7 separate regions of the Homo sapiens genome follow, and all the other regions are linked to region 1. The links are contacts of gene promoters, found by promoter capture Hi-C in blood cells and fetal thymus (Javierre and others, 2016). All regions are on one chromosome and are shown on one strand. Each heading gives the region's core, a stretch centred on a gene start or on the middle of the fragment in contact. The rest is flanking DNA. Distances are from core to core; before and after follow the strand shown.

Region 1 (3,619 bases), core at 334-2,833:
GCCAACATGGTGAAACCCCATCTCTACTAAAAATACAAAAATTAGCCAGGTGTGGTGGTGCATGCCTGTAATCCCAGCTACTCGGGAGGCTGAGGCAGAATTGCTTGAACCTGGGAGGCAGAGGTTGCAGTGAGACGAGATCGCATCACTGCACTCCAGCCTGGGAAACAGAGTGAGACTCTGTCTCAAAAAAAAGAAAAGAAAAGAAACGACTGTCCTGTCGAGTCCAGAGACGTGATTTTCTATGTGTGAGAAAACATTTTAAATGGCTTTTTCAAGGCATGATAAATCTAAGCACCGGCAGCCAGCCTGCAAATGTAACAAACCACATGGCTCATCCACCTGGAAGATCACAATAAGTGAACAGGATGTAGAGGAGTCAGCCCATAAAAGGGAAGAAAGTTTCATTACTGGGAAATCCAAACTTAAGCGGGAAAGGGACCAGGGTATAACCTTCTAAGGGGATAATGCAACTTAGGCGACGTCCGGGAAGATCGTAACCCTGTAGTCCTTGACCAGTGAGGAACTGAGGTAGGGTCTTGCATGCTAGGAGATAAATCACCTGTTGTAACTGCCCTGGGTGTACCTGCCTACCAGACACGTGACCTTGCAAGAGGGCTATTAAAAGTCTCACTTTCACTGTTCTTTGTGCCTCTAAGTTCACTCTTTGGGTTTGGACGGGTGAGCATGTTTCTCGCACTACGAAAAAACTGATTTTTTTCTTTAAGACAGAGTCTTGCTGTGTCGCCAGGCTGGAGTGCAGTGGTGCCATCTCGGCTCACTGTAACCTCCACCTCTCAGGTTCAAACAATTCTCCTGCCTCAACCTCCTGAGTAGCTGGGACTACAGGCGCACGCCACCACAGCCAGCTACTTTTTGTATTTTTAGTAGCGACAGGGTTTCACCATGTTGGCCAGTATGGTCTTGATCTCTTGACCTCATGTTCTGCCCGCCCTGGCCTCTCAAAGTGCTGGGATTACAGGCATGAGCGACCGCACCCAGCCAACTTTGATATTTTTTAAAAGCTCCCAGATAACTCATATGTATTAGCCAGGGTTGGGAACTAATAGATCACACTAAATGGCTTTATTTAAGCAAAGAGTACAGACCCAAAACATCTCCCAAACTATTCCTATGCCGGAGAAAAACTGAACCCATAATGGGGAGAGGGAAGATTCTATTATAATAAAAACTAAAAAATAACTTAAGGTTAAAAGTTTTCTTACTTTAAAAGTAATAATTTTAACTTTGTATTTTAATGTATAAATTCCTCTGTTTTAGCTTTGATCATTGTTTCAGCTACACTTGAACTGGAGAGAAATCAGAAATAAAGGTGTAAGATGATAGCTTGAATATGTTTTTATGATAGAGTAGAAAACCCTAAAAACTGCTGACATTTGACATTCTATGATCAAGGAACAAAGTCTGGACGCTTGGTTCCAAACTGATGGATTGCCTTCACAGATCCAATTCTCGACAAATTCTAGAACAGTTCTAGAACTGAACTGAAAGAATCATCACAAAGAGACTGAAACTGACCAATTCCATAACAACATTTTCCCCTGAAGTCTTAAGTTTTTCTCATGGGGAATATAACCAGGAAAGGAAGCAGAGACCTGGTGGTTGACAGTGCCAAGTCCCTGGAAGATGGCCCATCTGCAGCACTTCACTCGAAACTCTATGAAGCCATCATGAGAGAAGACTGCACTACGATCGAGGTACTCCTGAGAAATCACCCTGTCAACCAGCCCATCACCATTCTGCCCAACTCCGCCAGCAACAGATTACTTCTGACCCAGGTACCCTCTTTTCTGCTCAGTCACTTCTGGAAAAAAGTCAGGCTGCTTAGAAAGAAGCATGATCTAAAGCTGGTGAACCCACTAAGCTCACGGCCCTTATGAGAATGAGACACGACTCCAGCTCACTCCACACACACTGCAGTGCTCCCCAAAGCCTGCAAAGCCTCCCCTACACATGTCACACACAAACCAACATGAGAAAACACCAGACCCTGTGTGACTGGAAGACCATTCATGTCATCTCTCAAACATACCCACAGTGATGATCTCCATGTGGTCAAATTAGTTTTTCCCTTTTTTGGCCAGACGCAGTAGCTCATGCCTGTAATCCCAGCACTTTGGAAGGCTGAGGTGGGTGGATCACCTGAGGTCAGGAGTTCGAGACCAGCCTGGCCAGCAGGGCAAAACCCCGTCTCTACTAAAAATACAAAAATTAGCCGGGCTTGGTGGCAGGAGCCTGTAATCTCAGCTACTCGGACGGCTGAGGCAGGAGAATTGCTTGAACCCAGGAGGCAGAGGTTGCAGTGAGCCAAGATCGTACCACTGCACTCTCTAGCCTGGATGACAGAGCAAGACTCCATCTCAAACAAACAAACAAAAAATAGTTTTTCCCTTTTTAATATATACATTTTCATTTTCTAAATTTTTATACAATGATTATTACTTTTACAATTAAATTCAAAAAGGAAGTCACCCTCCCTTGTACCCTACTGTCTTATCTTGCAGCCACGGTGTGAAACCACTACTTACACGTGTGTATTTTAAGAGCTGGCACAAACAGCTCTGCTAATCATAGACAGAACATATGCTGCGTTATATTTGAAAACCCTGAAGATTCAGGTTTTACTGCTGATAATACGACTTTGGCAACGACACAGCACCTACTTGTCCATCACCCTGTGGGTTAATTTAAGGAATAAGTGACTTCATAGCAAGTACCCTTAATATCACACCACAGGCTCTTCTGAAGAATCAACTTTCAAAAATTTCCAAAGCTTTTGAGTGTTATTTCTGTTGCCTCAGTAAATGTGCATTTCTGTGAAACACAGATTTTATAGGATGGAATTCACTGAATTTTGATCATTTAAAACAGGTAGTAGAAAGGAAACTTTCAATGCACATACCAGAAAAAGAGTGAGCCAATGAGACACTAAATAAATGTATTGCCTTTGAAACGGCAAGCTAACACAAACAGTATTTTTAACTACACAGGGCCACTTGTAATGTGTTTTGTTTTCCCTCCAAAGCCGACAGAGTCTATCATCCCCATCCATCTGGCTGCCAAGTACCACAAGGCCCAGAGTCTGCTCTGCCTGTTACGGCACGGTGCTGACCCAGAAGTCAGGTAAGTTAACTCCACCGAAAATCATTTCTTTTTTTTTCTTTTTTGTTTTGAGGCAGGGGTCTCGCTCTGTTGCCCAGGCTGGAGTGCAATGGCACAATCTCGCCTCACTGCAACCTCTACTTCCTGGGTTCAAGAGCTTCTCCCACCTCAGCCTCCCGAGTAGCTGGGATTACAGGTGTGCGTCACCATGCCCAGCTAACATTTGTATTTTTAGTAGAGACAGGGTTTCACCATGTTGGCCAGGCTGGTCTTGAACTCCTGGCCTCAAGTGATCCACCTGCCTCGGCCTCCCAAAGTGCTGGGATTAACAGCCCTCAGCCACAGCACCCAGCTTCACTGACAATCATTTCTAAGTGAGGATATACCTGATATAGATTTTTTTTTCAGTTCATACATTTTTTCCACTTATGTTTGGACTTGTTCGTTCTTATGAATGAACCAATGTCTTTACTGAGTAGATGAGATACTCTGAAAA
Region 2 (3,619 bases), core at 292-2,791, 440 kb after region 1:
TTTCTGAACAAGGATGATAGCTTTCATCAAATATTTGTAAAGTTCACACGTCCTATGTTCATACAAATGCAAAAACACATATACACAAGGATGCTGATTTAATGACTGGATTTTAACAGCAAACCAGTAACGGCCTGACCACCCATGAATGGGGGCTGGGTAAATAAATTATGGTACATGCACATAATGAAACACTCTGTGGCTACTGAAAATTATGTAGATTTCTAGTGACATGAAAAATGTGAGGGGATAAAAGCAGTGTATAGAACAGCAATGTACAGTTTAAGTCATGTGTCTGTGTATGCATAGAGAGGTATCTGGTGTTAATGTTCACTGAAACACCAGATGAATCTTTTACAGTGAAAATGTGTCACTTTAGGAAAAGCTATTGCAAAAGAAAAAGGGTTCTTATATTTAAAAAGACAACATCCTGATCCAGAATGTTATTGGCCAATCATGAAAGTGTTTCTCTGGAGCCAGTTTATGAGAGAGTGCCAGATTAGAAGAGTGCTGGGCAAGGGCACTCCTAAAAGAACACGTCACTCTAGAAACAACGCAGGTCGCACCCAACATACCTTTTGTAATGTACAAGTAGAAGAAGTCACAGTATAGGATGGTCTGGACTACGCCGGCCACCACAGCAATGAGGTCAAAGAAGCCCTCAAAGTAGAAGCGCCAGATCCAGTTGACAAGATACAAAGCACGATAGAGGCCCAGGAAGAACAGGTAGTGGGTGGTGATGGTCTCGGCCTCCCCAGTCTTGCTGATCATAAATAGCTGCGGAAGGATAGCCACGGACTCCAGGTAGATGGAGAAGGTCCAGAGGATCTGGAAGAGAAATGGCAAGCTTCCATCACGACCCACTGCCCACCAGGAGCTCAGAGGAAACACTCTTGCTTTCTTTACCACAAAGCAGCCTAAGATGAGTGGGGAGTGGGGCATGTCGGCCCAAAATAGAACAACAGCTTGGCAACTGCATAACCCAGTGGTCCCAGCCTTTTTGACACCAGTGATCGGTTTCATAGAAGACAATTTTTCCACAGACCAGCAGGGTGGATGGATGGTTTCGGGATGATTCAAGCACATTGCAATCATTGTGCACTTTACTTCTGTTATTACTATAATATACAATGAAATAATTATACAACTCGTCATAATGCAGAATCAGTAGGAGCCCTGAGCTTGTTTTCCTGCAACTAGATGGTCCTATCTGGGGGTGATGGGAGACAGTGACAGATCATCAGGCATTAGATTTTCATAAGGAGCATGCAACCTAGATCCCTCAGATGCACAGTTCACAATAGGGCTCATGCTCCTATGAGAATTGAATGCTGCCAGTTATCTGACAGGAGGTGGAGCTTGGGCAGTAATGTGAGTGATGGGGAGCAGCTATAAATACAATGAAGCTTCACTTGCTCACCCACGGCTCATCTCCTCCTGGGTGGCCTGGTTCCTAACAGGCTATGAACCAGTACCAGTCAGTGGCCCAGGGGTTGAGGACTCCTGGCATAAATCACAGAAACTTAAGCAACCTTTAAGAGGCAAGGCACTGCCAGTGTGACAAGCTGGGTAACCTGGACACCTCTACCTCTTTGAATTTTCATCACCTTGTCTCTCCAGGTTTATTCTTCCCTCTTCAATTTTCTATGAATCTACATACAGAGGTTTCTCCTGGACAAGCTTGTCCTGCTCCAGATCTGGGATACCAAATCAACCCTGCTTTCCGCCAGGATTGACAATACTGATAATTGATAAGCTCCTTCCACTTCCTCACTGCTGTTTTTCCTCACTGACTGATCTTGCCAAACTACTGAAATATTTTCACTATTTTTCTTATTCCTTAAGCTTTCTGGTGTGGTTAAATCAAAGGGGTAGAAGTCACAACTGTAATTATGGAAATTCTCTGCCCAGCGTATGACTTTATTCACGATGATGATAGAAGGACTTTCAGAGGGTCCTTGAGTATTTTAAAAGTCCAGGCATGGCTGGGTGTGGTGGCTCATGCCTGTAATCCCAGCACTTTGGGAAGCCGAGACAGGCAGATCACCTGAGATCAGGAATTCAAGACCAGCCTGGAAAACATGGTGAAACCCGGTCTCTACTAAAAATACAAAAATTAGCCAGGCATGATGGTGGGTGCCTGTAATCCCACCTACTCGGGAGGCTGAGGCAGGAGAATCGCTTGAACCCAGGAGGCGGAGGTTGCAGTGAGCCGAGATCATGCCACTGCACTCCAGCCTGGGTGACAGCGAGACTCTGTCTCAAAAAAAAAGAAAAGTCCAGGCACTCCCAGCACCCATCAGACACCCAGGGTAGCACAGTGACTTGATCGGCCCCAGGATGTGAAGCAGCACCGTTTGCCTGTTCAGCAGGGAAAGAAGAGGCACTCAGGAGCAGATCAGCTCACTGCACAGTACTAGGGGCACCACAAACCAGCTTTCCTAAAGGCAAGAGGTGCAGAGTGCTGCTAAGCAGGGTCACAGACACGACATCAGTGCACATCTGTACATGAAAAGCAAACAAAATGTGGGCTACAGGAGGGAGACCTTGTTCTTCCCACACTGGGACAGGCAGGGCTCTGTGTTTGGTACCACTGAAGTCAAGATAATGAAATACAGTTTCAAGTTTCTATTTCAAATGAATCAGACAGTAAACTGTCAGCAGACACCTAAATATGTGGGTGCTTAATTCTCATCTACGATTTTTTTACACCAGTCATGAACATTGCACTAGAGTTTGCCAAACCAGAAAATAAAAACAAAAAACTCCATGAAAACCTACACGATCTGCAAACATGCAAATAGGTCCATTCTAGATAACCAGACATGACCATGAAATTAACTTTTTTTCTTTAGATGGAGTCTTGCTCTGTCGCTAAGGCTGGAGTGCAGTGGCTCGATCTCGGCTCACTGCAACTTCCGCCTCCAGGTTTAAGTGGTTCTCCTGCCTCAGCCTCCTGAGTAGCTGGGATTACAGGCGTGCGATACCACACCCAGCTAATTTTTGATTTTCTTTCTTCTTTTTTTTTGAGACAGCGTCTCGCTCTGTCGCCAAGGCTGGAGTGCAGTAGCGCGATCTTGGCTCACTGCAAGCTCCGCCTCCCAGGTTCACGCCATTCTCCTGCCTCAGCCTCCCAAGTAACTGGGACTACAGGCGCCCGCCACCACGCCCAGCTAGTTTTTTGTATTTTTAGTAGAGACGGGGTTTCACCGTGTTAGCTGGATGGTCTCAATCCCTTGACTTCGTGTCCCACCTGCCTCAGCCTCCCAAAGTGCTGGGATTACAGGCGTGAGCCACTGCGCATGGCCAGTTTTTGTATTTCTAATAGAGACAGGGTTTCACCATGTTGGCCAGGCTGAATGCCTGAACCTCTGACCTCAAGTGATCTGCCCACCTCGGCCTCCCAAAATGCTGTGATTACAGGTGTGGTGAGCCACCAGGCCCAGACCTAAATAACCTCTTTTTTTTTTTTGAGAGACGGAGTCTTACTCTCTCGCCCAGGCTGGAGTGTAGTGGCACAATCTCAGCTCACTGCAAGCTCCACCTCCCGGGTTCACGCCATTCTCCTGCCTCAGCCTCCCCAGTAGCTGGGACTACAGGTGCCCGCCACCATGCCCAG
Region 3 (3,619 bases), core at 303-2,802, 410 kb after region 1:
ACACAAACAAACATGTAAGGAAAAAAAAAAGTACACCGACTGCTTCCACTCTGACCCTGCTATTACAGCCACAAACTCAGTGGTCTAACCAGAATGTGAGATGAACAAAAAAGGGCAAATAAGTTAGATAATGCTGTATCTGAAATGACACCAGTCTCAATACTTCACCTTCAATAAGAAGCTTCCCAGCGCTGAAGCCACACTGTACACATGGTTTCTTTCTTTCCTTAAGCATCTGGCACCAATGACAGCCTACATTTGGGGGCCAACACAAACGTGGAGCCTCCATCAATCCAGCCTCCTTGCGTGGATGTTTCTAGAGGCATACTAAAATACACAGAGCTAGCTGGGTGCAGTGGCTCACACCTGTAATACCAGCACTTTGGGAGGATGAGGTGGGTGGATCAGCTAAGGTCAGGAGTTCGAGACCAGCCTGGCCAACATGGTTCAACTTTGTCTCTACTAGACCAGGTGCAGTGGCTCACGCCTATAATCCCAGCACTTTGGGAGGCTGAGGCGGGCGGATCACGAGGTCAAGAGATGGAGACCATCCTGGCTAACACAGTGAAACCCCGTCTCTTCTAAAAATACAAAAAAAAAAAAAAAAATAGCCAGGCACGGTGGCGGGCGCCTGTAGTCCCAGCTACTTGGGAGGCTGAGGCAGGAGAATGGCGTGAACCCGGGAGGCGGAGCTTACAGTGAGCCGAGATAGAGATAGTGCCACTGCAGTCCAGCCTGGGTGAAAGAGCGAGACTCCATCCGGAAAAAAAAAACAAAAAACAAAAAAAACAAAACAAAACAAACAAAAAACTTTGTCTCTACTAAAAAAAAAAAAAAAAAAAAAAAAGAAACTGTCTCTACTAAAAATACAAAAAAATTAGCTGGGTGTGGTGGCACGTGCCTGTAATCTCAGCTAGTTGGGAGGCTGAGGCAGAATTGTTTGAATCTGGGAGGCAGAGGTTGGTTGCAGTGAGCTGAGATTACGCCATTGCAGTCCAGCCCTGGGCAACAAGGGCAAAACTCTGTCTCAAAAGAAAAAAGTAAAATAAAATACACAGAGCTCTGTTTTCTATGTTACTGTGGTAATCAGGCACATGCCACTCTTGCTGGTCATCCCAAACCCTAAGGTCTTTTTCTCATGAAAGATGTTGCTGCTAACATTTCTACCCTCTACATTGCTCCTATGAGCTAACACCTTTTACATTTCAGTCCTTTATTCCAAACTGTCAAGATCTTGATGCCGTCACTCACTGTATCACCAGCGCCTCCCAGTGCACCTCACCACCAGCATATATCTGATATGCATACCTCGTCCATCCCAATTCAAGCAGTGACAAAGGACTAAAACATGGCGGATGGTGGCATGTCACACAGCCCTGCCTCTGACCAATGAATCATTTCTAAGAATGCATTCCTTTATTAGTCACCACAGTGCTCACATCATCCTATGAAGCAGAGGAATCCAACAGGGAAGGTTTCCAACACTTCTGGAGACATTCTCAGATAAATGGTTATCTACAGAAAACTGTAACACATATAAAAAATATGAAGAATAGGTGATCAGACGCGGTGGTTCACCCCTGTAATCCTAGCATTTTGGGAGACCGAGACGAGAGGATCACCTGAGCCCAGGAGTTCAAGATCAGTCTAAGCTATATAGCAAGACCCTGTCTCTACAAAAAATAAAAATAAAAAAAATTAGCCAGGTATGGTGGCACGTGCCTGTACTTCCAGCTACTTGGGGGTTGAGAAGAGAGGATTGCTTGAGCCCAGGTATTTGAGGCTGCAGTGAGCTATGATTGCGCCACTGCCCTCTAGCCTGGGCAACAGAGCAAGACACTGTCTCTAACAACAACAAAATAGTTGTAACCCTCACAATGTAAAAATAAAAGGGACCAGGCGCGGTGACTCACACTTGTAATCCTAGCACTTTGGGAGGTCGAAGCGGGTGGATCACGTGAGGTCAGGAGATCGAGACAAGCCTGACCAACATGGTAAAACCGCATCTCTACTAAAAATACAAAAATTAGCCAGGCGTGGTAGCGGGTGCCTGTAATCCCAGCTACATGGGAGGCTGAGGCACAAGAATCACTTGAACCCAGGAGACGGAGGCTGCAGTGAGCAGAGAGCACGCCACTGCACTCCAGCCTGCGCAGCGGAGGGAGACTCTATCTCAAAAAATAAAAATAAAAAATAAAAGGATCAATAGCCTAGTCTAAAATTGGGCAAAAGATCTGAACAGACATTTCCGCAAAAATGATACACAAATGAGCAATAAGCAAATGAAAGGATGCTCAACATCATTAGTCACCAAAGAAATGTTCCTCAAAGCCATGAGACAAAAAACAAATGGCCTGTGGCCCCAGCTATTCGGGAGGCTGAGGCAGGAGAATCACTTGAACCCGGGAGGCAGAGGTTACAGTGAGCCGAGATTGCGCCATGGCACTCCAGCCTGGGTGACAGAGTGTGACTCCGTCTCAAAAAAACAAAACAAAACACAACAAAACAAAATCATGAGCTACCACTTCACATTCACTAGGATGGCTATAATTAACAAGTCATATAATAAGAGCGTTGGGCAATTAGAACCCTTATACACTGCTGGTGGGAATGTAAAATGGTACAGCTGCTTGGAAAAGTCTGGCAGTTCCTCAAAAGGTTTCACAGAGCATTAACACATGATCCAGCAATTCACTCCTAGGTACACACTCAAGAGAAATGAAAACATGTCTGTATAAACACTTGTATGCGAATGTTCATAGCTGCACTATTCGTAATAGGTGAAAAATGGAAACAATCCAAATGCCTACCAAATGGCAAAGGGATAAATAAAATGTGGTCCATTCATTCGATGCTCTTATTCAGCCATCAAAATGAAGTACTGATACATGCTAAAACATCGATGAATCTTGAAGACATTATGCTAAGCTTAAGAAACCAGACCAAAAGGCCACACAGTGAATAAATTCCACTTATATGATGTCCACAATAGGCAAATGTACACAGACAGAAAGCAAATTAGTGAATGCTTAGGGTTGGGAGAGTTTGGGGAAAATGAGGAGTGACTGCTAATGGGTATGGGATCTCTTTCTTTCCGTTTTGTGACAGAGTCTCCACTCTGTCACTCAGGCTGGAGTACGGTGGCATGATCTCAGCTCCCTAGCAGCTGGGATTACAAGCATGCACCAACATAATTTTCTCTATTTTTAGTAGAGACGTAGAGATGGGGTTCCACTGTGTTGGCCAGGCTAGTCTCATGCTCCTGGCCTCAAGTGATCCACCCACCTCGGCTTCCCAAAGTGCTGGGATTACAGGTGTGAGCCACTGTGTCCCGCCTGGTACAGGATTTCTTTCAGGAGTGAAGAAAATGGTATAAACTTGATGATGGTGATGGCTGCACAACTCTGTGATTATATTAAAAACTGTTGAATTGGAAAGTTTACAGAAGTGAATTGTATGGTATGTGAATTATATCTCAATAAAGCTATAAAAAAATAGGTATCAAATAGAAAAGGCTACTTTTTACCTCTCATGCTGACACACATGATGGCTGACACAGTACATATGACAACTGCCAGGAGAATCATGAGGACGATCAAGTAACTGCTGAGCAAGGCTC
Region 4 (3,619 bases), core at 699-3,198, 390 kb after region 1:
CCATGTTGGACAGGATGGTGTCGATCTCTTGACCTTGTGATCCACCCACCTTGGCCTCCCAAAGTGCTGGGATTACAGGCGCCACTGCTTCTTAAATGGGCAATGGGGGGACGATGGCAGAGCTGACGTGAACAGGGCGCCCCCCGGGAGGAGCAGCCCTGTGGGAAGTGTGGCTTCTCTGGTGCCTCCCGGGAGACCCACAGATGGCTCCTGAAGATGCAAGTTTGGGGTCCTGGCCCTGGACTTAGGGGGGCTACCCCAGAGCCAGTCAGGAGCAGAAGAGGGCTGAGCACACAGGCTCTGGAGTCTCAACTCATTTTCTGGGTCAGCAGAGAAGAACGGGAAGTGAGACTGAGGAGTGGCCAGGAGGAAACCGGAATGGAGAGAAGAAAGCTTTGACAAGGAAAGCGTCACCTGGCATCTCCAAGGGGCCCAGGAGTATGGACTGAGGAAGACAGAAGAGGGGCCATGGGCTGGGGATGGATGTCGGCAGTCCTGACCTCACCTGGAGAACGGCAGGCCACGAGGGCCTGTGAGGATCCAAACCGGGAGCCTCCAGCGGGGCTGGTGGCCAGGGGCGTGACTCTCTGCAGCAAGACTGACTCACTGCCGCCATCTGGCTCTGGTGCAGAAATTCCCCGGGAGGGCTCCCGGGTGTGGGGCCTGGCTGGGCTCAGGGAAGTTAGGCAGGGAGGGGTCAAGCAGGTGCCCTCTGGGAGCTCCTGTGGCGGGGGGGCCAACCTGCTGGCCGCTCTGCTGCTGACAGTTCTCAGTGAAGATGAAACAGCTTCATCCCTTTTTGCAAAGGGAGTATTTCCCAACCCCAGGCTCACATCCTCATTTTCTGTCCTCACCATTTTCCCCTGTGTCTCATGCGGTTACTGACGGATTTCCCCAGCCGAGCAGCTGTGGGCTCCCGCTCCCGCACCCACTCCCAGGGCTGGAAAGTCAGGTTCCAACGTTACCTGCAGAGACATGGTCCCCCTCACAGCGACCACAACAGACTCTTTCCTGTGATCCAGAGCCACTAAAAACGGCAGCTCGTAAACCTGCAGGAGCAAGAAACAAGCATGGGGCCTAAACAGTGAACACACGCACCAGCACGCAAAGTCGGAGCCCTGCAGTGTCTGCAATGACAGCCCAAGTCCTGCGGCACAGAGAGGAGGGGACACCGCCTCTCCACTCACGCTCACTACACAGTGGGACCCACTCTGGCAGGGACTGGCCTTCATAAACCATGCTGCTCTACATGAAAAAGGATCTTTGTTTTCTTAGCCTCTCTCTGACCTCCCCAGAGATTCGGATTGAACTGGCCCAGGGTGCGGCCTGGACCTCAGCAGTGTTAAAAGCTCCTCAAGAGGTTCTACTGGGCAGCAAAGTGGGAGAGCCGCCGATCTGCGCCAGCAGGCCTCCCGCTGCGGTGCCTATGAGAATCACCTGGAGAGACAGCGAGCGACACTGAACACGCAGCACTGCAGCCATGCACAGCTGGCTTTTTTTTTTGAGATGGCATCTTGCTCTGTCACCTAGGCTGGAGTGCAATGGCGCAATCTCAACTCACTGTAACCTCCGCCTCCCGGATTCAAGTGATTCTCATGCCTCAGCCTCCCGACCAGCAGAGACTACAGGCGCCTGCCACCACGCCCAGCTAATTTTTGTATTTTTAGTAGAGATGGGGTTTCACCATATTGGCCAGGCTGGTCTCGAACTCCTGACCTTATGATCCACCCGCCTCGGCCTCTCAAAGTGCTGGGATTACAGGCGTGAGCCACTGTGCCCGGCCCACAGCTGGCTTTTGCAGCTTCTCCCAAGGTGACAGTGACCCCCCCAGAGTGCCAGACCTGCTACACTACACTACTGATGGCACTCACAACCCAGGACGACGATACGAATCCCAGAAGGCCATGCGGCATTAATACTGAGGGATTTCACTCCTCAACAGAAGGGCGAGGTAAGAAACACAGCGCGCTATCTCTGATGAAGACGTCTCTATCTTATGTGAAACCTGGGTTCTGAACCTGCACCAGGGCATCTGTGTGGCTCCCCCAGAGTCTGTGGCCCCTCTGAAATAGTACACAGGACTTAGAAGTGTGTTTGTGTGTCTATGAATTACGGGAAGAATAATTCATAACTTCCATCAGAATCTCTAACAGCTCCAGGACCCAAAAGAAGTGAAGAGCCGCTGTCTGCAGCGTCCACACCTTGTCATGGAAGCTGACGTGGATGAAGTCCCTGTACTGCAGCCCTGTGGTGTGCAGGATGGAGCCGAAGTGACAGTTGAGCTGATCGCCTCCGACCAAGTCATAGTCTGTGGTTCTGCTTCTGCAGCTAAAAAGAGGACAAAGACGTTACTATGCCGAACAGAGCCACTTGGCAAGGAACGTCCATCCTCACTGCCACATGTTCCCAGAGACGCGAGGACCAGAGCGGACAATTCTCAGGACTTAGCCTGGCTGACATGGAATGGCTTTTTAAAACTTAATTTGATCGACTGACTGATTGAGATGGAGCCTCACTCTGTCACCCAGGCTGGAGTACCGTGGTACAATCTCAGGTCACCGCAACCTCCGCCTCCCAGGTTCAGGCGATTCCCCTGCCTCAGCCTCCTGAGTAGCTGGGATTACATGCGTGCACCTCCATGCCCGGCTAGTTTTTGTATTTTCAGTACAGATAGAGTTTCGCCATGTTGGCCAGGATGGTTTTAAACTCCTGACCTCAGGCGAACTGCCCGTCTTGGCCTCCCAAAGTGCTGGGATTATAAGCGTGAGCCACTGCACTGGGCCCGGAATGGCTTATTAAAGATAATACCTCTCTGTGTACACTTCTTGGATAGAGTTCTGACTTCTGGCATCATGTTAATGATTTCTATATTCAAAAAATTCATCAACAAGGATGGGCAAGTCCCTAAAACTGAATGCCAACAGAAGCAGGTAAAGCAAACCTGTCCAAATGAACAGCACAGCCAACTCCGTAGAAAATAAACAAGAAATCATAGAAGTAACTTTTGAGTACTGTGCTCTACGTTTAAAAAACAAAAAGAGGCCGGGCGTGGTGGCTGATGCCTGTAATCCGGCACTCTGGGAGATCGAGGCAGGTGGATCACCTGAAGTCAGGAGTTCGAGACCAGTCTGGCCAACGTGCTGGAACCCCACCTCTACTAAAAATACAAAACTCAGCCAGGTGTGGTGGCAGGCGCCTGTAATCCCAGCTACTCGGGACGCTGAGGCAGGAGACTTGCTTGCAACTGGGAGGCAGAGGTTGCAGTGAACTGAGATCGCGCCACTGCACTCCAGCCTAGGTGACAGAGTGAGACTCCGTCTCAAAAAATACAATTAAATTAAATTAAAATAAATAAAAATAAAAACTAAAAAAACTACAAACACATCGCAAACTGTACTTAGCAGATGCCCTTTTTGTAGTGGAACTGGGTATAGCAATTCTGAAACTATTTTCTTAGTAATAGGGGACTGAGCATGGGTAACTCACGCTGATGTTGCTGGGAGCCAAGCTTCTCTTTGCAGACATGATGTGGAGAAGCAAAGAGAAACTCTGTGGCTTTGGACTAGAATTAAAAGATATCAGGGCCAGGAGACTGACACCCATGATGCCAGCACTTTGG
Region 5 (3,619 bases), core at 550-3,049, 370 kb after region 1:
GAGGTTCTGTAAACTGTGCTAGTGCTGACGATGTTCTGTACAACTTAACTCACTGGCGAGAATACAGCGTGGGACCCTTCAGCCACTACAACAGAATTTTTTAAATTGACAGTTGCAGAATTGTGGAGTGTTTTTACATTGATCTTTTGCTAATGCAATTAGCATTATGTTTTGCATGTATGACTTAATAAATCCTTGAATCATACGACTGGTAATACTGGTGTTTTTGAGACTTGATGAACAAGTTCCTGGTGTGTGTTTGTTTGCCTTGCTTTAAAGTCCTGGGTTGTTGGAGACAGTCATTTTCAATGCGTGTCTCCACACAGGAGGGACAGGGAGTGCCACCTCCAGGGGAGAACTGGGTGAGCCCAAATACGGCAGGAGTGGAGGTGACATTCATGTTTGGACCTGTCGAACAGTGGCGAAGCTCTGAGGGAGAAGCGCCTATCGGGGTGTGTGTGCACATCCTGGCCCAGAGCTAGGGGCTGAAGATGGAGATGTTGGGACCCTAGACTGGCCCTGGAAGAGTAGAGGTTGGTGAACCACATGCCCTTAAGATCCTTTCCAGAGGCTGAGTGCGTGGCTTACGCCTCTAAGCCCGACGCTTTGGGAGGCTGACACAGGAGGAGCGCTTAAGCCCAGGAGTTCTAGACCAGCCTGGACAAGAAAGAGACCTACCCAAAAAAAAAATGCAAGAGCCTGAACTTGTACTACATAAAGGTTCATGTTAGAATTCGTTTTCTTAATATTCCTTTTTATTGCTTTGAAGATTGTTTTTGAGTTTTTGTTTTTTTTTTAAGATGGAGTTTTGCTCTTGTTGCCCAGGCTGGGAGTGCAATGGTGTGATCTCGGCTCACTGCAATCTCTGCCTCTCGGGTTCAAGCGATTCTCCTGCCTCAGACTCCCGAGTAGCTGGGATTACAGGTGCCTCCCCCCACGCCTGGCTAATTTTTTGTATTTTTTCACCATAGTTTCACCATGGCCAGGCTGGTCTTGAACTCCCAACCTTAGGTGATCTGCTCGGCCTCCCAGAGTGCTGGGATTAAAAGCGTGAGCCACCGCCTCCAGCTGAGTATTTTTTTTTTAAACAGATATAAATAATGCAGATTTTGTTTTTTGAGATAAGATCTGGCTCTGTCTCACAGGCTGGAGTGCAGTGGCGTGATCTTGGCTCGCTGCAACCTATGCCTCCTGCACTCAAGCCATCCTCCCACTTCAGCCTCTGGAGTAGCTGGGACCACAGGTGCGCACCACCACACCCAGCTAATTTTGTGTGTATTTTTTGTAGGGTTTTGCCATGTTGGCCAGGCTGGTCTTGAACTCCTGAGCTCAAGCAATCCACCAGCCTCGACCTCCCAAAGTGCTGGGACTCCAGGTGTGAGCCACCAGCCTCGACCTCCCAAAGTGCTGGGACTCCAGGTGTGAGCCACCATACCTGTCAATATGCAGTTTTTAAAAGTAAAAGTTTTAGTGGTTTCTAAAGAAAAACACTTCCCCCTTCGTAGCCTCTCCAGAAGGAATACTTTGTTTGCTTACCTGATTTTTGGTATTTTACCTGCTGTGTCTAAATTAGGCTTTTTGTTCCAGTGTAACTTCTGAGTTCAGCCATTCTCATCGACATTCCCAGCATGGACGATGAGAGGCTTGCTTTCCCGCTTGTAGCCCTCTCCACCCAAAACCTTTCTCATCCCCTCAATCTGATGGTTTTGGTGGACTCAGTTTAGTGCCGGCATGATCACTACTACATAAACTACTCACTGGCCTTGCCATGTAGCAACAAAACTGTGTTTCCTGCAGAACTTCTGGTTTTCTTTGGGATAATTAGTACTTTGCTTACTTTCCTATGTACTGAATTCAATTGTGAACTTTTTTTTTTTTTTTTTTTAAGGAAGGGTCTTGCTCTGTCACCCAGGTTGGAGTGCAGTGGTGCCATCACAGCTCCTAGGCTCAAGTGATCCTCCTGCCCTAGCCTCCTGAGTAGCTGGGACCACAGGTGTGTGCAACCATGCCCGGCTAATTTTTAAAATGTTTAGTAGAGTTGGGGGGGGGGGGTCTCCCTGTGTTGCCTAGGCTGGTCTTGAACTCCTGGCCTGAAGCCACCATTCCACCTCAGCCTCCCAAAGTGCTGGGATTACAGGTATAAGCCACTGTGCGCGGCCTCAGCTGTGAACTTTCATCTATTGTCTAAACCTCTCAAGATATTCAGATGTGTTGTTATTTTGCCAATACCCATTTTCCTGGAGTCATCTGATCTGCACCTCTCTTAGGTGCTGGTCTTCATTTCCTGCATCCACATTCCCTTTTTTGATTTACTTCATCCTGAATGGTTTCTCCAAGAAATCCCTTGAGAGAGTTGGAAGTACGTAGTCATGCACTATGTAATGACATTTTAGTCAACAGTGTATTGCATGTATGATAGTGTGTGACTGCACCTTATTTTTACTGTACCTTTTCTGTGTACAGATACGCAAATACCACTGTTAGAACTCCTGTTGCATTCAGTATAGTAACAGGCTGTGCAGGTGAGTAGCCTGGGAGCAATGAACAGGCCCTACCTTTGACCCAGGTGTGTAGTAGGCTGACATTAACAATGAAATCACCCGCGTGTTTCTCAGAATGTATACCCATCGTTAAGTAAGGCATCACTCTTATTTTTGAGCCCCTGCATCTTTGAAAACAACTGTTGTACATTACTTCTGGCTGGGCCTAAAATTCTAGGTTGGTGTGAACATCCCTTTTAAGTTATATTTTTGGGACAGGGTCTCACTTTGTTACCCATGCTGGAGTGCAGTAGCATGATCTCAGCTTACTGTGGCCTCAACAACCTGGGCTCAAGCAGTCCTGCTCAGCATCCTGAGTAATAGGGACTACAGGTGTGCACCACCATGCCCAGCTAATTTTGTTTTGTAGAGATGGGATCTGACTATGTTGCTTAGGCTGCAGATTTCTTCTTTTGAGACAGGCTCTTGCTATGTTGACCAGGCTTAGACTCAAACTCCTGGGCTCAAGTGATCCTCCCACTGCAGGCTCTCAAGTAGCTGGGACTACAGGCTTGGCCCACTGCACCCAGCCTCCCTTCGGTTAAAAAAATTTATTTTTGGCCAGGCGCAGTGGCTCATGCCTGTAATCCCAGCACTTTGGGAGGCCAAGGTGGACAGATCATTTGAGGTCAGGGGTTCGAGAGCAGCCTGGCCAACATGGTGAGACCGTCTCTACTAAAAATACAAGAATCAGCCAGGCGTGGTGGTGCACGCCTGTAATCCCAGCTACTTAGGAGCCTGAGGCAGGAGAATTGCTTGAACCTGGGAGACGAGGTTGCAGTGAGCCAAGATCGTGCCACTGTGCTCCAGCCTGGGTGGCAATAGTGAGACGCCCATCTCAAAAATTTTTTTTTTTTTTTTTTAAGAGATGGGGTCTTGCTGTGTTGCCCACACTTGTCTTGAGCTCAAGCAATCCTCCCACTTTGGCCTCCCAAAATGGAATGATTACAGGCCTGAGCCACTGCACCTAGTCCCTTCAGAATTCTGAGGGCAGTTCTTCCATGATTTTTCTTAGCCATTTCTGTTGGGATGTATTTTTTTCTTGTGAGATTGTCCTTTTCTCTTCCACATCCTAGGGT
Region 6 (3,619 bases), core at 380-2,879, 330 kb after region 1:
GTGGCGTGAACCCAGGAGGCAGAGCTTGCATGAGCTGAGATCGTGCCACTGCACTCCAGCCTGTGTGACAGAGAGAGACTCCATCTCAAAAAAATGAATGAATTAATTAAAATAAATAAATAAAATAAAAATAAAAATATTAGCCAGATGTAGTGGTGCATGCCTGTCGTTCTAGCTACTCAGGAGGCTGAGGCGGGAGAATCGGCTGAGCCCAGGAATTCAAGGCTGCAGTGAGCTATGATTGCACCACTGCATGCCAGCGTGGGTTACGGAGGAAGACCCTGTCTCAAAAAAAAAACAAAAAACAAAAAACAAAAAACCCGAAGTTTTTTTTAAGGTCTTTAGTATGAGTTCTTCTGTGCTAGCTGAGGTTTTAAAAATGTACACTACGTTAAACAAGTATTTAAAGTAAATAAAGTCATTTAAACTAAATGACTTTAATTAAAAAAAAAAAACAAATAACTCGCTGGGTGACGGGCTCACGCCTGTAATCCCAGCACTTTGGGAGGCAGAGACTGGCAGATCAGTTGAGGTCAGGAGTTTAAGACCAGCCTGGGCAACATGGTGAAACCCTGTCTCTACTAAAAATACAAAAATTAGCCAGACATGGTGATGGGTGCCTGTAACCCCAGCTACTCAGGAGGCTGAGACACAAGAATCGCTTGAACTTGGGAGGCAGAGGCTGCAGTGAGCCAAGATCGGGTCATTGCACTCTAGCCTGGGTGACAAGAGTGAAACTCTGTCTCAAAAAAAAAAAAAAAAAGCCGGGCGTAATGGCTCACACCTGTAATCACAGCACTTTGGGAGGCTGAGGTGGGCGGATCACTTAAGGTCAGAATGCCTGTAATCTCGGCTATCTGGAAGGCTGAGGCAGGAGAATCACTTGAACCCAGGAGGCAGAAGTTGCAGTGAGCCAAGACTGCGCCATTGCACTCCAGCCTGGGCAACAAGAGCGAAACTCCATCTCAAAAACAAAACAAAACAAAAAATAAAGTTGTTTTTTTTTTTTGAGGTCTAAAGTATGAGCTCTTCTGTACTAGCTGATGTTTTAACAATGTGCACATTGTTAAACAATCATTTAAAGTAAATTATTTATTTAAAGTCATTTAAATTAAATGACTTTAATTTTTAAAAAAATCAGGCCGGGCACAGTGGCTCACACCTGTAATCCCAGCACTTTGGGAGGCCAAGGCAGGCAGATCATGAGGTCAAGAGATCAAGACCATCCTGGCCAACATGGTGAAACACTATCTCTACTAAAAATACAAAAATTAGCCAGGTGTAATGCCTGTGATCCCAGCTACTTGGGAGGCTGAGGCAGGAGAATCGCTTGAACCCCAGGGGCAGAGGTTGTAGTGAGCCAAGATTGCACCACTGCACTGCAGCCTGGCGACAGAGTGAGACTCCGTCTCAAAAAAAAAAAAAAAAAGTACTATCTTGTTCCTCCACATCTTTACAGCACTTAGTGGACTTGCGGACTTGTAGAATGGAGAACACAAAGTTCATTCTCCTCATTGTACAGATGAGCAATGAGGAAAAAAGGCTTAATGACTTAACGATGTCACAGAGCCCATTGGTGATTAACCTGGGGCCAGGTTGGCAGCAGTAGTCGGCAGTTCCTGGGCTTCTATCCCAGTGTGCCTTCCACTATACCATGCTTCCAGTGCAAAATGTCAGCAAGGTTTACATAATTAAGAGAAAACAGTCATTTTCTTTGGGCCATCAGACACTTGTATTTGAAGGGATCCAGAACCTTCCTTGGAGTTTTTATTCTTTTCATTAAGATGGCAAATTAGGGTGGGCACAGTGGCTCACACCTGTAATCCCAGTACTTTTTGGAAGGCTAAGGCCGGAGGATCGCTTGAGTCCAGGAGTTCAAGACCAGCCTGGGCAACATAGCAAGATCCTGTCTCTACAAAAAAGTTAGCTGGGTGTGGTGGCACATGCCTGTGTTCCCGGCTACACAGGAGGCTGAGGCAGGAGGATCTGTTGAGCCCAGGAGGTTGAGGCTACAGTGAGCTATGATGGTTCCACTGCACTCCAGCCTGGGTGACAGAGTGAGACTCTAAAAACAAAAAAAAGAAGGTAAAAAGAAGGATGATAAATTATATTAACACACTATGAGAATTAGCCAGGGGTGGTGGTGTGCACTTGTAGTCCCAGCTATTAGGGACTCCATCGCTTGAGCCCAGGAGGTTGACTGCAGTGATCCAAGATCTTGCCACTGCATTGCAGCCTGAGTGATAGAGACCTTGTCTCTAAATAAATAAATAAAAGAAGAGAAGGAACTATCAACAAATATTGAATGTTAATTGGCCGGGCATGGTGGCTCACACCTGTAATCCCAGCACTTTATTTAGAGACAAGGTCTCACTCTATCACCCAGGCTGGAATGCAGTGGCAAGATCTTGGATCACTGCAGTCAAACTCCCGGGCTCAAGCGATGGAGTCCCAAATAGCTGGGACTACAAGTGCACACCACCACCCCTGGCTAATTCTCATAGTGTGTTAATATAATTTATCATCTGTCTTTTTTTTTTTTTTTTTTTGGAGTCTCTCTCTGTCACCCAGGCTGGAGTGCAGTGTTGCGATCTCGGCTCACTGCAAGCTCCGCCTCCTGGGTTCACGCCATTCTCCTGCCTCAGCCTCCCGAGTAGCTGGGACTACAGGCGCCCGCCACCACGCCTGGCTAATTTTTTGTATTTTTAGTAGAGATGGGGGTTTCACCATGTTAGCCAGGATGGTCTCGATCTCCTGACCTCGTGACCCAACCGCCTCGGCCTCCTGAAGTGCTGGGATTACAGGAGTGAGCCACCCTGCCCGGCCCTCTCAGCACTTTTGGAGGCGCAGGTGGGTGGATCACAAGGTCAGGAGTTCGAGACCAGCCTGGCTAACATGGTGAAACCCCGTCTCTATTAAAAATACAAAATAAAATTAGCCAGGCATGGTGGTGCGTGCCTGTAGTCCCAGTTACACAGGAGGCTAAGACAGGAGGATCTCTTGAACCCAGGAGGTGGAGGTTGCAGTGAGCTGAGATCGCGCCACTGCACTCCAGCCTGGGCGACAGAGCGAGACTCCATCTCAGAAAAATAAATAGATAAATAAAAATAAAATTAAAAACCTGTCTGCTGCTGAAAAGGCTGTGACCAAAGAGGAATTTCAGGGTGAATGGACAGCTCCAGCTCCTGTATTCACCGCTACTCAACCTGAGGTTGCAGACTGGTCTTACGGCATGCAGGTGCCCTCTGTGCCTATCCAGCAGTTCCCTGCTGAAGACTGGAGCAGTCATCCTGCCACGGAAGACTGGTCTGCAGCTCCCACTGCTCAGGCTGCTGAATGGGTAACAGCAACAACTGAATGGCCTTAAGGTGTTCTTGCACGGGCTCTTAAGCAACGTGGAAATAGGTTGATGGAAAATAAACATCAGTTTCTAAAAAAAAAAAAGTGCATTCTGAAGTGTTGAAGGGTAACATGCACTGATTTCTGTAACTTCTTTTGAATTGAATTTAAAAACAATGTGAATTGTTGAATGGATAAACAGATACATGGTAAACCAAGTGTAATAAAATGTTTATTGCAGAATTTGGGTTGACATACGGCTGTTCGCTGTATATTTCTT
Region 7 (3,619 bases), core at 299-2,798, 310 kb after region 1:
CCACTGCACTCCAGCCTGGGCGACAGAGTGAGACTCCATCTCAAAAAAAAAAAAAAAAAAATTATGAAAGCTGTCATCCTGCCTAACATGGTGAAACCCTGTCTCTACTAAAAAAAAAAAAAAAAAAAATTCAAAAAATTAGCCAGGTGTGGTGGTGGGAACCTACAGTCCCAGCTACTCGGGAGGCTGAGGCAGGGGAATGGCATGAACCCAGGAGGTGCAGCTTGCAGTGAGCTGAGATCGTGCCACTGCACTCCAGCCTGGGCGACACAGCAAGACTCTGTCCCAAAAAAAAAAATGAGTGCTGGCCAGGCACAGTGGCTCACCCCTGAAATCCCAGCACTTTGGGAGGCCAAGGAGGGTAGATCAGGAGGTCAGGAGATTGAGACCATCCTGGCTAACACGGTGAAACCCCATCTCTACGAAAATACAAAAAATTGGCTGGGCCTGGTGGCGGGCGCCTGTAGTCCCAGCTACTCGGGAGGCTGAGGCAGGAGAATGGTGTGAACCGGGAGGCGGAGCTTGCAGTGAGCGGAGATCGCGCCACTGTACTCCAGCCTGGGTGACAGAGCAAGACTCTGTCTCAAAAAAATAATAATAATAATTATTATTATTATTATGAGCACTGTCATCCTGGCTAACGTGGTGAAACCCTGCCTCTACTAAAAAAAAATTTTTTTTAAATTAGCCAGGTGTAGTGGTGGGAGCCTGTAGTCCCAGCTACTCGGGAGGCTGAGGCAGGGGAATGGCGTGAACCCAGGAGGTGGAGCTTGCAGTGAGCTGAGATCGCGCCACCGCACTCTAGCCTGGGCCACAGAGCAAGACTCTGTCAAAAAAAAAAAAAAAAATTATGAGTGCGCGCCAGGTGCAGTGGCTCACCCCTGTAATCCCAGCACTTTGGGAGGCCAAGGTGGGTAGATCACCTGAGGTCAGGGGTTCAAGACCAGCCTGGCCATCACGGTGAAACTCTGTCTCTACTAAAAATACAAACATTACCCAGGCATGGTGGTGGGCACCTGTAATCCCAGCTGCTTGGGAGGCTGAGGCAGGAGAATCACTTGAACCCGAGAAGTGGAGGCTGCAGTGAGCCAAGATCATACCATTGCACTCCAGCCTGGGCGACAAGAACAAGACTCCATCTCAAAAAAAAAATTGCAAGTGCTGAAAACCTTTGATTCAAGATTCTAAAGATTTTCTGCCACACATTCAATGAGCAATCACTCATTAAGAACCTACCCTACGCCAGGTGCCAGGTGCTGTTCTAGGTGCTGGTATTAGGTTGGTATACCAAGCAGACAGTCTCTTCTTAAAGCTTCATTTTCTTTCCTTTCTTTTTTCTTTCTTTTTCTTTGTTTCTTACTTTCTCTTTCTCTCTCTCTCTTTCTGTCTTATAGAAACAGTGTCTAGGCTGGGTGCGGTGGCTCACACCTGTAATCCCAGCACTCTGGGAGGCCGAGGCAGGTGGATCTCTTGAGCCCAGGAGCTGGAGACCAGCCCAGCTAACATGGCAAAACCCCGACTCTACTAAAAATACAAACATTAGCTGGGCATGGTGGTAGGCACCTGTAATCCCAGCTACTCGGGAGGCAGGAGAATCACTTGAACCCAGAAGTCAGAAGTTGCAGTGAGCCAAGATCACACCATTGCACTGCAGCCTGGGTGACAAAGCGAGACTCTGTCTCAAAAAAAAAAGTGATCTTTTTGAAATGGTTAGAGGAGTTACATATGATCCAGCAATTCTGCTCTAAGTATACACCCAAGAGAAATAAAAACCGATGTCCACACAAAGCTTACATGCAAATGTTCGTAGTAACATTATTCACAATAGCCAAAAAGTGAAAGCAACCCAAAAGTCCAACATAGAAAGACATAAAAGACAAAAACAAAAGACTAAGCAGGGCCAGGTATGATGGCTCACACTTGTAATCTCAGCACTTTGGGAGGCTGAGGCAGGAGGATTAGTTGAGGCCAGGAGTTCGAGACCACCCTGGGCAACATAGTGAGACCCCATCTAGAAACAAAATGAAAAAATCAACCAGGCATGGTGGCACATGCCTGTAGCCCCAGCTACTCAGAAGGCTGAAGTGGGAGGATGGCTTGAGTCCAGGAGCTGGAGGCTGTAGTGAGCTATGATCGCACCACTGCACTCCAGCCTGGATGACAGAGGAAGACGCTTTCTCAAAAAAAAAAAAGAAAAAAGAAAGAAAGAAAGAGGAAGAGAAAAGAAAAGAAAAAATTGGCCAGGTGCAGTGGCTTACACCTGTAATCCCAGCACCTTGGGAGGCCGAGGAGGGTGGATCCCCTGAGGTCAGGAGTTCAAGACCAGCCTGGCCAACATGGTGAAGCCCCGTCTCTACTAAAAATACAATAATTAGCTGGGCGTGGTACCAGGCACCTGTAATCCCAGCTACTCAGGAGGCTGAGGCAGGAGAATCGCTTGAACCTGGGAAGCGGAGGTTGCAGTGATCCAAAATCACACCACTGCACTCCAGCCTGAGCCACAAGAGTGAAACTCCGTCTCAAAAAAATAATAATAATTTCATATATATATATATATATATATATATATATATATATATATATATATATGATCTAGGACTAAGAAACACTTCGTTCTTCCCACAGGCCATATAACTGAAAAGTTGTAGGCATGACTTGTTAAATTATAGCAGATTCACAGTACCATTTTTAATCTTGCTTTTACTAAATTTAGTATTTGGTATTGATTCCATTTAACTGCCTTGTATTTCAGATTCTGTATAAATAAGAAGGATGCTAAGAACTCCAGGAGATTAAGGCTTGCTTGCAAATAGTATTTTAAAATCATAACCATTCTCAGTATACAACTGTCTGCATCATTTTCTCATTTAATCATCTTTCATCCTAAAGAGGTATTAACCTCCTTAAAATGCCTCACTGCCCTACAAACTAGAGATCTAGGGAGGAGGGGCTCCCTAAACAAATTTGGAAAATGGAGTTCCTTAGGCCTTATTACTCATGAAACAGATTCTAACATTCCTGCAATGAAGAGGATGGGTATGGCTTTTTCTTTTTAGTCTCACTCTGTCACCCATGCTGGAGAGCAGTGGTGGGATCATAGCTTACTGTAGCCTTGAACTCCCAGGCACAGGTGATCCTCCCACCTCAGCCTCCCAAGTAGCTGGGACTACAGGCATGCACCACTACATTCAACTAACTTTTAATGTTTTGTAGTGATGGTGTCTCACTATGTTGCCCAGGCTTCTCAAGCTCCTGGCCTCAAGCGAGGGTAAAGCATGTTCTGAAGAACAAGAAAAAAAAAAAAAAGGCGTGGGGCTGTCCCCCTTATTCCTTCAGATTCTATTTCCTGTTGTACCTCCCTTTACCAGAAAGCCACAAAAATTAAACCTTCAAATCAGGTAAGTTAGTGTTTTTTCACAAATGAACAAAAACTCTAAAACCTGCAGGGGAGTTTAAAGTAGCAGAGGTAAATATCAAGGCCAAGAAGACAGACACCCCACTCCCCACCCCCATGATGTGACATGGCTGCTTGTTGCACTTGGTCAAGCCCAAGCCTACAATCTTCACACTTGTGTCTTTTTTTACAGACGGGGTCTTGCTCTGTTGCCCAGCCTGGAGT

Evidence for each region. The method cuts DNA at HindIII sites, captures the fragments that hold promoters and counts their contacts. A CHiCAGO score of 5 or more calls a contact.
Region 2: a fragment that was not itself captured here is called in contact with the fragment with the promoter of ANKRD61 in region 1 in 4 of 17 cell types (total B cells, M0 macrophages, M1 macrophages and 1 more); the score reaches 6.9 in total B cells.
Region 3: a fragment that was not itself captured here is called in contact with the fragment with the promoter of ANKRD61 in region 1 in 1 of 17 cell types (monocytes); the score reaches 7.2 in monocytes.
Region 4: a contact is called between a fragment that was not itself captured here and the fragment with the promoter of ANKRD61 in region 1, in 1 of 17 cell types (naive B cells). The highest score is 5.2, in naive B cells.
Region 5: a contact is called between a fragment that was not itself captured here and the fragment with the promoter of ANKRD61 in region 1, in 7 of 17 cell types (erythroblasts, naive B cells, total B cells and 4 more). The highest score is 8.0, in erythroblasts.
Region 6: a fragment that was not itself captured here is called in contact with the fragment with the promoter of ANKRD61 in region 1 in 4 of 17 cell types (endothelial precursors, erythroblasts, total CD4 T cells and 1 more); the score reaches 7.9 in endothelial precursors.
Region 7: a contact is called between a fragment that was not itself captured here and the fragment with the promoter of ANKRD61 in region 1, in 15 of 17 cell types (naive CD8 T cells, total CD8 T cells, naive B cells and 12 more). The highest score is 11.0, in naive CD8 T cells.

The regions. Positions count from the first base shown.
Region 1 is chr7:6,029,793-6,033,411 of GRCh38, forward strand. ANKRD61 (ankyrin repeat domain 61) reads left to right here and starts at 1,584. Exons shown (of 3, transcript NM_001271700.2): 1 at 1,584-1,799; 2 at 3,047-3,144. The coding sequence starts at 1,584. All of the region lies in intron 11 of EIF2AK1 (eukaryotic translation initiation factor 2 alpha kinase 1), which reads right to left. The HindIII fragment of the contact is 4,913 bases long and covers 1-2,792 here.
Region 2 is chr7:6,465,496-6,469,114 of GRCh38, forward strand. KDELR2 (KDEL endoplasmic reticulum protein retention receptor 2) reads right to left here. Exons shown (of 5, transcript NM_006854.4): 4 at 576-828. Among named protein-coding and RNA genes, the nearest start is that of KDELR2, 17 kb to the right of the region's middle. The HindIII fragment of the contact is 274 bases long and covers 1,405-1,678 here.
Region 3 is chr7:6,442,427-6,446,045 of GRCh38, forward strand. DAGLB (diacylglycerol lipase beta) reads right to left here. Exons shown (of 15, transcript NM_139179.4): 2 at 3,527-3,619. Among named protein-coding and RNA genes, the nearest start is that of DAGLB, 3.7 kb to the right of the region's middle. The HindIII fragment of the contact is 2,747 bases long and covers 180-2,926 here.
Region 4 is chr7:6,423,787-6,427,405 of GRCh38, forward strand. It overlaps DAGLB (diacylglycerol lipase beta), which reads right to left. Exons shown (of 15, transcript NM_139179.4): 7 at 2,202-2,328; 8 at 966-1,049. Among named protein-coding and RNA genes, the nearest start is that of DAGLB, 22 kb to the right of the region's middle. RefSeq lists an enhancer at 734-1,233. The HindIII fragment of the contact is 3,115 bases long and covers 392-3,506 here.
Region 5 is chr7:6,403,763-6,407,381 of GRCh38, forward strand. RAC1 (Rac family small GTPase 1) reads left to right here. Exons shown (of 6, transcript NM_006908.5): 6 at 1-205. Among named protein-coding and RNA genes, the nearest start is that of RAC1, 31 kb to the left of the region's middle. The HindIII fragment of the contact is 4,507 bases long and covers 1-3,619 here.
Region 6 is chr7:6,362,335-6,365,953 of GRCh38, forward strand. It overlaps the pseudogene RPSAP73. Among named protein-coding and RNA genes, the nearest start is that of RAC1, 10 kb to the right of the region's middle. The HindIII fragment of the contact is 8,332 bases long and covers 1-3,619 here.
Region 7 is chr7:6,340,857-6,344,475 of GRCh38, forward strand. All of the region lies in intron 1 of FAM220A (family with sequence similarity 220 member A), which reads right to left. All of the region lies in intron 1 of SMIM10L3 (small integral membrane protein 10 like 3), which reads right to left. Among named protein-coding and RNA genes, the nearest start is that of FAM220A, 6.3 kb to the right of the region's middle. The HindIII fragment of the contact is 477 bases long and covers 1,311-1,787 here.